Regions from separate parts of the Homo sapiens genome. Here region 1 is linked to region 2. Evidence: promoter capture Hi-C in 16 types of primary human blood cells and fetal thymus (Javierre and others, 2016). All regions are on one chromosome and are shown on one strand. Each heading gives the region's core, a stretch centred on a gene start or on the middle of the fragment in contact. The rest is flanking DNA. Distances are from core to core; before and after follow the strand shown. Region 1 overlaps NHS (NHS actin remodeling regulator). Region 2 holds the start of BEND2 (BEN domain containing 2).

What was found. The method cuts DNA at HindIII sites, captures the fragments that hold promoters and counts their contacts. A CHiCAGO score of 5 or more calls a contact.
Region 1: a contact is called between a fragment that was not itself captured here and the fragment with the promoter of BEND2 in region 2, in 3 of 17 cell types (non-activated CD4 T cells, activated CD4 T cells and naive CD4 T cells). The highest score is 5.9, in non-activated CD4 T cells.

The regions. Positions count from the first base shown.
Region 1 is chrX:17,696,610-17,699,309 of GRCh38, reverse strand. The region is part of intron 3 of NHS (NHS actin remodeling regulator); the gene reads right to left. Among named protein-coding and RNA genes, the nearest start is that of SCML1, 40 kb to the left of the region's middle. The HindIII fragment of the contact is 828 bases long and covers 900-1,727 here.
Region 2 is chrX:18,219,541-18,222,240 of GRCh38, reverse strand. BEND2 (BEN domain containing 2) reads left to right here and starts at 1,355. Exons shown (of 14, transcript NM_153346.5): 1 at 1,355-1,515. The coding sequence starts at 1,491. The HindIII fragment of the contact is 8,313 bases long and covers 1-2,155 here.

The DNA.
Region 1 (2,700 bases), core at 64-2,563, 520 kb after region 2:
TAACTATATCTTAATGTCTGGTAGGGCTAGGTTTCCTTTTTCAGTGTTTTCCTGGCTAGTCTTATATGTTTGTTTTCCCATAAGTATCTAACTCCATAAAATAAAGCTTATTGGTATTTTTATTGAAATTGTGTTAAACTTATTAAGTAACTTAGAGAGAACTGATTTGTTTGTAGTGTTGAATCATTCTATCCAAGAACAGGGGATGTCTTTCTATTTGAAAAAGTCTAATGTTGTGTCTTTAAGGAGTGCTTTAAAGTTTTTCTCATATAAGTTTTACACATTTCTGGTAAATTAATTCCTAAGTATTTGGTCTTCTTTGTTATTGCTGTAAATGGGGTTTTCTCTAACATTAGATATATATACATACATATATACATATGTATGGAAACATTAGGGGCATTTCTAATTAAAAATAGATATTGAATTTTGTTTAAGGCTTAGCCAGTATCCAAGGAGCTAACCATATGGGTTTTCCCCTCCTAGATCTGTTAATATGATATATGATACTAATAGATTTCCTAATATTGAACCAACCTTCCATTCCTAGAATAAATCCCATTGGTCACAGTATATTAATCTCCTAATATAATATGATGTTATATTCTGTTTGCTAATGTTGAATTTAGTATTTTTGAATCAATAATCATGAGTGATATTGGTCTGACTGTCTTTATCAGTTCAGGTGTCAATGTTATACTTGCTCCATAAAAGAAATAATAGGGAAGTTTTGCTTCATTTTCAATGTTTGTAAACAATTTATAGAGCATTGGGAACATCTGGACTTTGAAGGTTTAGTAGAATTCCTCTGGGAAACCATCTAGGCCTGATGTTTTTTAGTGGCATGGCTCCTTAATAACTTCTTCTGGTTCTCCCATGGAAATCAGTCTGTTTAAGCTTACCAATTCTAATGACGCCAATTCTGGCAATTTTTACTCTTCTAGGAAATTATCCATTTCATCTAGGTTTTCAAATTTATTTGCACAGAGGTCTGCAAAATAGTCTCTTATAATTTTTAAAATTTCTTTTGTTTCAGTGGTATTTTTTCCTGTCATTGCTTATTTTATTTGTGTTTTCTCTCTCTTTTTCTTGGTCATGTTTTTTCAAATAATCAGGACCTAATTAATAAATAAAAATCTTGTGTGTGTTTAATGTATAGAGCATATAGTTGGATTTGCTTTGTGAGCCAAATTGAAAAGTTTTTAAATAGGCAAATTAAGCTCACTCATATTCATTGATATGACTAAACTCTGATAAATGTTATAATTATGTGTATTTTGTTATATTTGTTATGTTTCTTCCTCTGTAAGATGTGTTGTCTTCTCTGTTTATATAAAACAATTTTTTGGTATTTAGGAAGATTTGTATTTTTTTTTTTTTTGCTAGTAGTCTTCTTTTTTCTTATACCATTTTAATGTCCTTAGTCCTCTGTTTTATTATTCAAGCCTTTACTATCTGGTTAACTAGTTCTTATTGGTATCCTTTAACAGCCACTTATTGCCTAGACAGTGATCAATTAGCTTATTCTATTTTCTTCTTTACCTCTCCCTTCTCTCATTTTTAGTTGTATCATTCTCTGTTGTCACAACATTTAAAATTGCACCTTAGTTTTCTATCTTCATCTCCACTGTACTTTTAGTTTTAGATCTACATTTACATGTATTAAAATGTATGCTACCCATCCTTTTGCTGACATTTCCCCAATTATCCCTTGGTTGGATGAAGCTTGTCCTGTGGTAGATGCCTCATAAAGGACTCATGGGTGCAAAATTCTCTAAGTTCCTGTATGTTGAAAATTGCTTTTCTATACTTGATGAACAGCATGGTTGGACATAAAACCCTTGCTTCATATATTCTTTCATTGACCTTTTGCAATCACTCTATGTGGATCTGCTAATCTATCTCTTACTCATTTGTGTGGCTTTGGTGTGTTTCACAAGATCCCTAGTTTAATGGCACCATCTTCTGTCAGTTTGTTGAAGTTCAAATATTTTAGTGTATTTGTTTGTTTTGGTGGTGAGGCAGGAGTTGAAGGACACATACAACTCCTGCGTGTCCTTGAATTTTTTGGTTTTATTTTGTCTTGCAGGGTCCTAGAAATTTCCTTTTTGCCTCTTTTCTTCTTCACTCCCAATTGCTGAAGGGCAGATTTCCCTTCCTGTTTGTCTTTTGTCTCCCCCAGAAGCTTTATATAGAGAAAACTGCTCCTGTAAAATATGCATACTTTTAGGCCCTTTTTTGTAGTTTGTGTCTATCTGAAAAAATCTGTAGTATTTTTCAGACTTAGGGCAGACAATTTTTCTGGTGGTGGTTTTAGATCAATCTTAGGACCCACTGCTAGTTCATTTCTTCCATGTGGCTTTCTGAATCTGCCCTCCCTCACCTTGTAACAGGAGGAAATATGCTGAGACTTGGTGTTTTCTCTCTTTTACTTAACAGTCAATTTGATGTTTGGGAATTCTCTGTCCTCAAGTTATGCTGATGGTGTGTTTTTCTGTGTAGTTTTATTTTTCCCTTCTTGTTCTATATCATTTTTGGAGGAAATAATGGGAGATGGGGACCTAGGGTATCACCATTATAGTCAGCTACCTGGGAGTCTCAGTGTATATTTCGATCCACCAAAAAACCTATGTATTCAATTGCCTCAAACAGGCTACTTTCCAGCCATCAGCACTGTAAGTCTAAGTCTAATAGTTTTTG
Region 2 (2,700 bases), core at 106-2,605:
TGCTTCTCACAAGTAAAGAAATTCTTACCCTTCCCCCAAATGAGGAGACACACAGTCACAAGAGTCATTGTGTAACTGACACAGTGAAGAAATGGATCCCAAATTCCAGGCACTGGGTGCTTTCTATTTTATAACATTTAATTCTTAGAATCTTGTGAGGGAGGTGGTGTTCAAATATAAATAAGACATGGTGCTGTCCTCCAGGAACTTAGGAGAGAGGCATGTTGACGAGGATTTATAATGTCAGGCAAAGTAATTTAAATACTAATAGGGACGTGAAGATTACCTGCTGTGGGATCCTTCTTACCAGGGGGCTATAGGAAAGTGTCTTGATGGAGGTATTATTCGAACAGATGTAGTACCGAGAGAGGTTTTGAAAGATGTGAAGACAATAGTAAAGACATGGAATCAATCTAGGTGCCCATCAATGGTGGACTGAATAAAGAAAATGTGGTACATATACACCATGGAATACTATGCAGCCATAACAAAGAACAAAACCATGTCCTTTGCAGCAGCATGTACACAGCTGGAGGCCTTTCTCATAAGTGAATTAACACAGAAACAGAAAACCACATACCGAATCTTCTCACTTGTAAGCAGGAGCTTAAAGATCCGGTACACAGGGACACAAAGATGGAAACAATACACTGCAGACTACTAGAGGGGGCAGGAAGGAGGGGAGGGGTTGCTAGGTATTTATTAGGGGCACATTTTCAAAGTTGGCTTGTTTTCGGATTTGTTCCCAAAGCCGGTATCGGATATGAGGAAGCAACCTGGAAAACACTAGAGGGTCTGAACGAGGAGGAAGAGAAACACGTAGGGTGTTGGGAACAGAGGCGGAAGTTGGGAGATCCTGCGAAATCGGAGTCCCTTTGGAGTGGGGGAGGCCATCGAGGTGTGCGAGGGCCCGGCCCCCTTGCCGCGTGGTCGTTAAGAGGAAAGGCCCTGATTTGGCTGGTGGCGGATCGCCTCCCTCCCGGCTCTCCCCGAGTGCGGCAAAGGAAGGGCTGCCTTTGAGAGTCCCGCAGGAAGATTTAGAAAGTCTCTTACATTGGACTTTTTTTTTATGATGTGCGTTTTGGGACGAGCAGAATTACACTGTTGGCTTCCAGTTCATTATCTCTATCTCTATCTCTACTTCTGTATCTATATCTACATATATTCACACACACATATATAGTACAAATATATATATACATACATATGTATATTTTTGTAAAAGGGACTCTTTAAGAAAGTAGGTCAAAAGTGGGGGAGAGGGCGAGGCCCTTTGACCCCCAGGAGTCACGCACGCATGCCAAGCGCTACTGCGCAGCCGCGGAGACGTGGTCCAGGCTCCTGCCCGGGCCTCATTGTGCCTCGGACAACGAGTGTACGCAGTTACCACACAGTTACCAAGCAGTTACCTCAGAGCCGCGGCGCAGACGTAGGCCTCAGGTCTCGGGCCTCAGGTCTCGGGCCTCAGAGCCAGACCCCGCCATCTCACGATGTCAGAGAGGACCCAGGAACAGGGTAAAGTGACCTCGCCTCAACTGGCCCGCTAGCTTGGGCCTCAAGTTCTGTCAAGAGTCTGGATGGCACCCACTTAGGTGGCCATTCAGGGGCGGCAGGATTGGCTAGTCATTGACCGGGGCGTGTCGGGGGGCGGCCTCTGGGTATTGGCCATCTGCCGCCGATTGCTCAGCGCGCCGGTGGGAAATTTGGCGTGGTGGACCGAGATGGCCCAGGGTTCAGGTCGTCTCAGGGGCTCAAGATGTCCCGGAGACGTGAGGTGATCCTGAGGCTCATGGCGTCTCCGTGGCTCTTGGTGGCTCAGGGTTGGGGTGACTTGGGCTTGTGCCGAGAGTGCGTCAAGAGGCTGGGCCTGGTTGCCCTCTGGCCCGCGGTTCTTTCCGGAGCCTCGAGTGGCTGGGAAACAATCTCGGCGCTCGCGACGCCGGGCTCCGGCGATACAGATCTATGCGGCCGCACTTTTTCTTGAATTTATTGGTTTTCCCTGGTGGGCAGCCGCGGAACACAGCCCTGTTCAGCGTTTTGGCATAGCGGCTGGGGCACAGCCTCAAATTCCGGGTGTTCTGAGGGGGTGCTTTGGGTGGTACCCGCCGCCTCTCCCGGGGTGCCCGCGTGGGTTACATTTTGAGATTTCGAAGCTTATTAGATACTTGATGCTGACTTTCTGGGACGAGCTTATCCTTTTTCAGCTGTTCTCTTTTTGGTGAGGCGGGGTATGGGGGGGCGAGGAATGAGGAATGACTCAGACTTTCACAGAGGTTTTTTGTTGTTGTTTTTTGTTTTTGTTTTTGCTTGGTTTTGTTTTGTTTTGTTTTGTTTTCAGACAGAGTCTTGCTCTGGTGCCCAGGTGGGAGTGCAGGGGCGCCATGTCGGCTCACTGCAGCCTCCGCTTCCTGGATTCAAGCGGTCCTCTCACCTCAGCCTCCTGAGGAGCGGAGACTACAGGCGTGCACCACCACGCCCGGCTAATTTTTGTATTTTTTGTTGAGACGGGATTTCGTCATGTTGCCCACACTGGTCTCGAACTCCTGGGCTCAGGCAATGCTCCCGCCTCAGTCTCCCAAAGTGCTAGGATTACTGGCGTGAACCACCCCACTGGGTGAGAGCTTTGAGTCTAAAGAATTGACAAATTCCCGAGTTGATTTCCTGTCAGACATTTTGCGGTTGAGACATAGAGTCTGAGGC